Regions from separate parts of the Homo sapiens genome. Here region 1 is linked to region 2. The links are contacts of gene promoters, found by promoter capture Hi-C in blood cells and fetal thymus (Javierre and others, 2016). All regions are on one chromosome and are shown on one strand. Each heading gives the region's core, a stretch centred on a gene start or on the middle of the fragment in contact. The rest is flanking DNA. Distances are from core to core; before and after follow the strand shown.

Region 1 (4,371 bases), core at 746-3,245, 110 kb before region 2:
ATTTTTTTACTATTTTATTGTTGGCTACTTCTTCTATTTGCGTTATATTTAGTGTCACTAAGCTGCTATACACGTACTCATTTGAAGAGATGTGCTAAAGCTTTTAGTGTGTTTTGCTATTGATTATCCTATCCAAGAGTTTGGGTTACTCTACGATCAAGATGGCGGTCTGCAGTGAGCCCACCTGCCCGCCAACCTCTGCAACAACCAGCTGAGGATAATTGCACTGGGCTGACGCCAAGGCCATGATTAGATCTGCTAGTGGGTGAGAACCATGAGACTGAACCTCTAATCCCGAACCTCTCTTCCAAGCTACTTTCCAAACCAACTGCTGCCTGCAACTCCCTTTGACTAAATCTGACCTTCCTTCAAACTGGCTCTCTTCCTAATTTCCAGATTTTATGGAGGCAATGCTGTCCAGTGCATGGAGTTGAAATGAGGCTAAAGTGGGTTTGAATCCAAGCTCTACATTTACTGTTTGATCTTGGGCCAATTATTTATTCTTCCTGAGGCTCAGTTTCCTCCTTTGTAAAATGTCAGTAAAGATTCCTAGCATGTAGGATTTTATGCATTTAAAGAGATAACATTTCTAAGTGACTAGTTCAGTGCCTGGCACAAACACAGGCACTAAATAAGCAGAGGTTTCCTCCCTTTCCCCTAACTGTCAATGGTACTGCCACTGTGTACAGTAGCCAAGTTGGACATGTTGATACCAATTTTTCTCTTCTCCCCCTTTCCCTTAACTGAAGCCAATTATCAAGTTATGGAATATTAGAACTAGCAAGAACCTTAGAAATCCTGACCATATGATTCACCGATAAAATACAGAGAAAGACATAAGTCACTGATCATTGCAGCAATCTTGACCCCCACGTCAATTAAATAACAAAAATAATATCATTTTATGATAGAATTTGTTGCTCGACATTCGACAATCATGTTGAACAAAAGAAGATCAATCAACTATAATCAGTTCAGTGATCATGTACAAACACAGCTTCAGGCTCACAAGTCAAGATCTATTTTCCAAACCATTGTCCTATGGTTATTTATGACCGTGAACATTTTTTTGGTGGTAGAATGTTCCTTGTCACTGGTATATTCCTTTGCCCTATGTCTCTTCTTTCTTTGTCATTTACTAACATGAGGAGAGGGATCTGTCTCAAAGATAATTGGAGGAGAAAGCGATCATAGAACCAAAACAAAGGGGAAAAAATAAGATAATTCCAAAGGAAACAATATCAATGTTTTAAAGCCTAAAAATTGACTACTTAATAAATTACATTACATATACCCTGGAACTATTTTCTCCATGCATTGCATGTGCTATAGCATGAATTCATTTGTGTTCTTCTAGATAGTTTATCCTAAGGGAATCTACTAAGCAAAATAAGAATCAGATAATAGTTCTTTATCACACAACTCTTCTTCCTTTCATATTCCATGCTAAATAATCATGCATGATCCAAACCTCCTATTTAACACTTCACCCTCTTCTTCCTCCTATGTTCCATGTACAAGGGGAAAATAAATGATCCATAGTTAACTTTTTTTATGTGAAGACAGGAAGAATATGAATCATACATCAAGTTAGAGTATAAATAGTTACGTTTATAAAAGATTTAATTTCTTGAATCTCCATAGTCACTGGATATGCGTATCATCCAAGGTTCTCCCAATAATAAAACCAGAGCCAGGAAAGAAAAAAGACCCTGTCTTTAGTGATAGCCCATTGTGCTAAAGTCTACTTATTTGTCAGGGCAACTTGGAAAGTTCTGAAAGACCTGGCCTTCAAAGTTTACCATTTTGTCCACCAGCTCAGTGCACTGACTTGACACGACATGAGGCAAACAAGTGAGGAGAGTGGCCCACCACAGTCTAAGATTCTATTGGGTTACCTCTGAAACGCGAAGACATGCTGCTCACAGAAGAGAACAATGGGTACAAGGACTGCAAGGCTGCAAAGCTTCATCCCAACAGCAATTTTCTGTACAACAAATTTCTCTGAAGAGAAAAACCCAGATCATTGATTGCATAACAGCCTTCTTTACACACTGGTTAAAATATAACGGCATGTTCCCTCTTGTTCCTGTGGGTCAATCAACTTAGCTTCCATTTCCACTCCCAAAAAGAGAAATATTATTGGCTTAGTTAGGCTGTTGCTTGATAATTAAACACTCAAAAAGAGTATGATGAGAGTTGCTCTTAATTTAGACTATCTAGAAAATGTGTAACTCCTTGGGGAAGGTAGGGCCAAGAATAAAAGGGTAGTAATACAGTAGGATCTTGTCTGGTTTATTGCAGAACAATAGCTATAGAATATTGACTAATGGATATATAGCCCATGTTGAGGGAGATCTACCGTGAAGTACTATAAATGTCTTCCCTTGCCTCTGACTTTTTCAACATTTTAAATTTATGAAGATGTAAAAAGTGAGTTCCTCAAATCTGGCTAATCCAATCCAATGTTGAAGTGCAGTTTGTAAGGATGATTACAGGATCTCTGTTCAAAAAGATGTTTCCTTGACCATATGGAATGATAGGCCCACCCCCAATAGGAATACTATTTCATGGAAGCTGGTTCAAGCAGTAAAGACATCAGGTTACTTTGAATCTCATTTATTTAAAGGTCACCATAATAGCCATCAATTAAATCCAGGCCCATCCCCTATCATCTTGAAAGTAGCATCAAATAACATTTTGTCTAGTATGAGGCCATATCCTACCCTCTGTAAGTGAGTGGAGCCCTCTTCCCCTACATTCCCATTGGTTAATGCACTTGAATGTTCTTGAAGTCAGAATTGGCAAATTTGCAAAATAAATCAGCCTGCCCACAATTAACTTCTGAGAAGAAAATGATTTTTTTTCTTTTTTCTTTTCTTTTTTTTTTTTTTTTTTTGAGACAGAGTCTCACTCTGTAGCCCAAGCTGGAGTGCAGAGGCGTGATCTTGGCTCACTGCAACCTTCACCTCTGGGGCTCAAGCAATTCTCCTGCCTCAGCCTCCCAAGTAGCTGGGACTAGAGGTGTGCCCCACCACACCCAGTTAATTTTTTTTGTATTTTTAGTAGAGACAGGGTTGCACCATGTTGCACTGGATGGTCTCAAACTCCTGAGCTCAGGAGATCCACCTGCCTCTGCCTTCCAAAGTGCTGGGAATACAGGCGTGAGCCATCGTGCCTGGCCAGAAGAAAATGATTGAGATTTCAAACTTTTCCTTTTGAGATTTAAAACTATTGAATGATATTTAATGAATTAAAGTGACCTCCACTGTAACCACTTGTTGTATAAGAAAGAAGAAGAAATAAGAAAATATGTGTGTGTCTGCTCATATGTGGAGAAAGAAACATAAGAAGGATAGATTAGAAATCAATGAGACTGGTTATCCACGGGAGGTGAGTGGAAACACACTGGAAAAGACAGGGTAGAAGAGACAGGGAGGGACGCTTCTTTGGGTGAAGTGTTTTGAATAGTTCTGAACTTTAGAACTACTCTGAATTTTAGAACCATGTTCTTTTCACATATGTACTTAAAACAAGCAAACAAATAAATTTTAAAAAATAATACAAACAAAAACGAACCTGTGTTTCAAATGAATAACATAATCACACTGAAGGAGAGAAAGAAAAACTAACCCAAGTAACTTTTACCTTATCTTTTTAACATAAAAGTTAACTTTAAAACAAACAGTCAAAATAGTTAAAATATGCTAATAAATTCTATCAATTTTTGTGCTACTTATTTTGTATCTGTGTTTCTTCTTTATTTTATGTCCTGTTTCCTCTCTGGGGAAACAGAAACAGGATACAAAAGAAACAGAGTGCATAAAAAACAATAAATTTTAAATTACATTTCTTATTGCTGAAGCAATCTTTTAAAAGTTCCTATAGCAAAAGTCTACAGGTGATAAAATCTTTTATGCTCTGTATCTTTAACAATAACTTTCTTTTGCCTTCACTTTCAAGTACTAGTTTAGCTGAATGTAATATTCGAGTGTGACGGATGCGTCATTGTTGTTTGACATTTCCTGTTGCATGGTAGGAATCTGCTGCCCAGGTAATTGTTGTTCCCTTGCAGTTTAGCTGTCCTTTCTCCTTGATAACTTTTAAGGGATTATCTTTATCCTTGGTGCTTCTCAGATCCATTACTCTGGTCTAGATGTGGATTTAGTTTTTATTATCTTACTCAATACACAGGATGTACTTTTGATCTGAGGATTTAGACATTTCTTCAGTCTTGGAAAATCATTTTATTATTTCTTCAGCTATCGTATCTCTGCTAGTGCCCTGTAGGGGCTCCTGTTGGAGCTTCTTGATCTATCTTTCATGTCTTGTAACTGTCCTTTCATGTTTTAAAAACTCATCATCTTTGTC
Region 2 (4,442 bases), core at 764-3,263:
CTTCTGCATAAGGCTTTTATCTCATTTTAGCAACATTTAAAAAATGCAGGATGTCTATAACCTTGGCACTCATCATTACGCTGGCATCTTTAGTACAATTTGCTAATAGAGTGAAAGCACTGTGGTTCAGTTTGGGAAGCTTCTTCATAAGGTTCTGCCAAACTGCAAAGGGGACGGAACAAATAAATAGGCTGACCGTACATACATCAGAAAAAGCAGACCCTTAAAATCCAAAAGGGAGTTATTCATTATTTCAAAAACACGTTATTTTACAAAAGAAGAAAGAAAATTGAGGGGATAATATTTTCAAAAATATAAGAACTATAAAATAATCTAAATTGAATTTTGTTTGTCCTGTCTAAACTCATCCTATACTGATATATCATTTCCATAGACAAAGCGAGTCAGATGTGTTAGAATAACATATATACATATAAAATATACCAAGCCATGGATTTAATTTTCATAATAACTATCTCATTTGCCTAAATGTTTGGTACTAAGTGGTAGAAATAGAAGACAAAATGTTCACACCTGAGATTACATATTAAACCGCCCTAGGTTTTAGTCTCATACTTGCTAGAAGAAATCTGCAAGGAATGATACCTGGATGCCTGCGGATTCCAAGTGTGACAAAGCATTTTTTGAAAAAGCATTCAGAAGCCTTGCTTTCGACTACACAAAGCTAAGCATAAATTTTAAAGGCCAAACGTCAGTCAGTAAAACTGAATTCCTGTAGTTCTCATGGTTCCAACGATCTTGAAGAGCATAGGTACCTGACTCAATTTACACTGTCATTTTTTATGCTTAAAAATATAAACCTTTTTTCACATTTACAAAATATGCACGATATATATTACTTGAGACTAATCTTAGCCACAGAGCTGCCTTTTATTTTCAGCTTTGTATTTCTGAGAAACTAATGAATCTATGGTGTAGATAACAGCAAAAGTGGAAATAAATTCATAGTCTGGGGCAGCAGTATAATTGGGACACAGTAAACTTACAAGGAAAAGAAACAGTACACTACTACTGTAAAGGAAAACAAGTTGCATAATATTTTCCAGAGTCTGATTACTTTTTTGTTAAAACTTTTCTACTTTTTTCATTGATTGTTTTAAAACATGTTTGCTACTAAGGAGAAAAAGGAAGACATGGTTATGGTGTGAATCTTGAAAGATCCCCAAAGCTAGAAAGATTTATACAGAAGTCTCTCATTTTCCAACTTCTGTTATAAAGTTCCTGCGCTAGTACTTAGAAAAAACCAAACCTGGAAGGAAGCTCTACCTAGTTTACTTTCTGAGTTCGGATTTCCGCATCTATCAGATGAGCTCTTTCTAGTGCTCTTTCCCCCTCAAATCTCCAGAGAAACACGCACATTTTTGCAAACACACACGATGTATCTATGACTGCACACACAGGTTCATCAACACCATGACAGAGGCGACACGTCACAATATGATAACCAGAACAGAGGACGATGACAGTGAGAAATGGGTTTCTTTTATGGCCCGCTTGGATCCCTAATGCCCTTATTTCTACACAATCCAGCCTCAGCCAGGAACTTTAAAGGATCAGAAAGAGAAAACAGGTTGCATGAAAGGAAGAGAAAGAAAACCGAATGCCCGCTTTTCGAGAGCACTGCAAAATTAGCCCCGGGACCCGGCTGCACAAAAGTGCAGCCTTAAAGAATGCCAGCCCATATTCTAGACACCCAAGTAAAGCATCCTGTAATCGAGAGAAAATAATAAATAATAGTGGTCATTGCCATTAAGCATAAAAATAGTAATAACAATTGTCACCACGGCGTTCCGTACAGCAGCTGCGCGTGGAGCCGGCTTCTCCTCCGGCCCCCACGGCCCGCAGCTTCCCCTGCAGCCCCACAGTGCGTCGGAGGAAGGCGAGGGCTCCGCGCGCGCTGCACCGTGGGCTGGGCCTGCCCCTCCCGGCGCCCGCCTCGCCTCGCCTGTCCCGCGCCCGCCTCGCCTGTCCCGCCCCCGCGCCTGCGCGTCAAGTGGCTGGGCTGGCTTAGCGGACCCCGGTTGCTAGGGTGTGTCTCCTTGGCCTCCTAGAGGGTGGGGATCCGTGGTGCTTCTTCGGGAACAGCCTCCTGCAGGAAGACCCTCGCTGGACCTTTACCTCGCTGCCTAGATTCCGAGGAAAAGGAGATAGGAGACGAAAAGCCAGTTGGTTTGGAAAGCGGCCGATTATCCTAAAGGGTAGTGTGGGAGTCCAGCACTTCCATGCCCCTCTTTGGGTACTACGGAAGGGAGATTTCCAGCATCGTGTGGAACATATGACCAGGGAGTACACCTTGAGCGCTTGTGTGCAGTTATCTTTTGGCGGTAAACGGCCCATTTGTGCAGTTTCAGGGTGTTCCCTTCTAGGCTATCAATGGAATAATGCCGTGCCAGGCACTTTTGATGTTGCCCTGCAAACTAAAAGCACATTTTGGGGGTGCATCTTCTCGCATTATTTCTAAACAGTATGAGTTGGGATCCAGCAGCCCTGGGAAATCTCATTATAGTGAAACCCATCTTATTTTAGGATTGAATTGTTTTGGCCCAAGCATAGTGGTTGAAAAACAAGCCATTATAGAAAGAAAACAATTTGTTTGTGAATGGTTAGATATGGTGGGTCTTCAGAGGCTTATCTAATGAAGGCATCTTCTACACATTTCTGACCAAATTCTCTTTCTACATTTATAGCGATAACATTTTGGAGAGAGAGAAAAAAAATGTCATTTCGACTATTCTGAAAAATCAGTATTTACTAGTTGAAATAGCATTGGCAAATTGAACTTTGTACTAACATGGAAAATTGTAGAATGATCCTGGGTAGTAATAATACACATATTTTTAAAATTCTATGTTTACTTATAACCCTACATTTTAACTGGATTCTTTCTATTAATAGAAGTTTTAAAGAATTATTTTCTTACCCTCTTTTTTTTTCATAAAGGAATTCTGCCTGGATTCAGTAGAGTATTGGTACAGAATGATTTTCTTTAAGATGTAATCTAAATTCTTATTATTTTTCAACAATTCAAACATATTCAAAACCTTTTCAATTCTCATTTAAACCAAGGATTATGAAAAACAGCACTTATTATTCATTAAAATGCAAAAGCCCCCACTGCTTCTTCGAAGACCCTTACCTCCAAAATTCACTAAGCTGTCTTTACATGAGAAAAAAACCCATACAGGTATGTGTATTAATCAGATATGTGTATTAACATTTATGTATCTTTCATAGAAATTCCTTGACTTGCACAGCTCAGAATCACAATAAATACACTCACTAATAACTTACAAATGTTTGTTGTCAGGTGATAACATCCAATTCAATTCCACAGATGCATTTACTGATACTTATTGGTGGACTTAGTAGATTCAAGTTTATCTCATCGATAAAATTTACTTGTAACCCCAGAATTGGTACTCAAAGGGCTTTCTCAGTCATGCGTGGATATGTGCAGAGCACTGAAAATGAGTCACCCAACACACATGCCTCCAGCTGAGGTGGAACAAGGCTACCTCTACCTTCTTGTTTCAGCTCTCATATTGTAAACGGGTACTGTTTTCCCTGTCTGTTTAGCTCTATGTTTCTTGAATGTTTGTGCTTTTAGTTAGTGATTTCACTGTGGGCCCCAAGCATAGTGTTGAAGTACTGTCTAGTGTTCCTGAGCACAAGAAGGCTGTGATGGGCCTTACAGAGAACAAGATATGTGTTAGATAAGTTTCCTTCAGGTGTGAGTAGTGTTGTTGGCCCTAAGTTCAATGTTAACAAATCAACTGTTTATATTTATTAAAGTGTCTTTAAATAGAAACAAATATAAAACAAAATTAGTGTTGATCAGTTGATGAAAATGTTGAAACCAGAGGTTTGCAGGAACCTAGCCCCATATTTCTTCCAGGAGAAATGGTTCAGTAATGAGTAATTCATTGTTTGTAGAACAGAACTACTGCAAATAACAAGGACCGAATATATTTAGTGAGCAAAAACAGACCTTACCTGTTCCCTTCATTAGTTACCCACTGGGATACTGATTGTAATCAATCAATCATATAAGTAAATGCAAAATTACCCTGTGATAAGTGCTATGAAGTAAAGATGAGCCACTTTTATAACTATAACTTTATCTAATGCTTAATCCTCTATTTCTGTTGTATGGTTTCTATTCCCTCCTTATTATAAGCAATACAATTAGCATATTTTCTCATTTTCCCCTTCTCAGTTTCCTCTTCCATCTGATTTTAGTTGATTGCAGTTTTAGTGTCAACATTTATACTGTTCAAATATACCTAGTCTATAACTTGATTTATAATGTTAAATTATCATCTTTTGACCTATGGCTATTAACAGTAGGTAACTCAACTTACCTGTAATACTGCCACAATTTCCTCTCCTACTTTCTCTCCCAACTTTTGTTACATGATTTT

Evidence for each region. Contacts are between HindIII fragments. The CHiCAGO score rates a contact against its expected background, and 5 or more counts as called.
Region 1: the fragment with the promoter of CPB2 here is called in contact with the fragment with the promoter of LRRC63 in region 2 in 1 of 17 cell types (neutrophils); the score reaches 5.3 in neutrophils.

Annotation. Positions count from the first base shown.
Region 1 is chr13:46,103,038-46,107,408 of GRCh38, forward strand. It overlaps CPB2 (carboxypeptidase B2), which reads right to left and starts at 1,996. Exons shown (of 11, transcript NM_001872.5): 1 at 1,899-1,996. The coding sequence starts at 1,972. The HindIII fragment of the contact is 3,608 bases long and covers 1,965-4,371 here.
Region 2 is chr13:46,209,915-46,214,356 of GRCh38, forward strand. It overlaps LRRC63 (leucine rich repeat containing 63), which reads left to right and starts at 2,014. Exons shown (of 10, transcript NM_001282460.2): 1 at 2,014-2,345; 2 at 3,088-3,205. The coding sequence starts at 3,121. It overlaps LOC107984578 (a long non-coding RNA gene), which reads right to left and starts at 1,938. Exons shown (of 4, transcript XR_001749863.3): 1 at 1-1,938. RefSeq lists a silencer at 1,770-2,099. The HindIII fragment of the contact is 5,320 bases long and covers 138-4,442 here.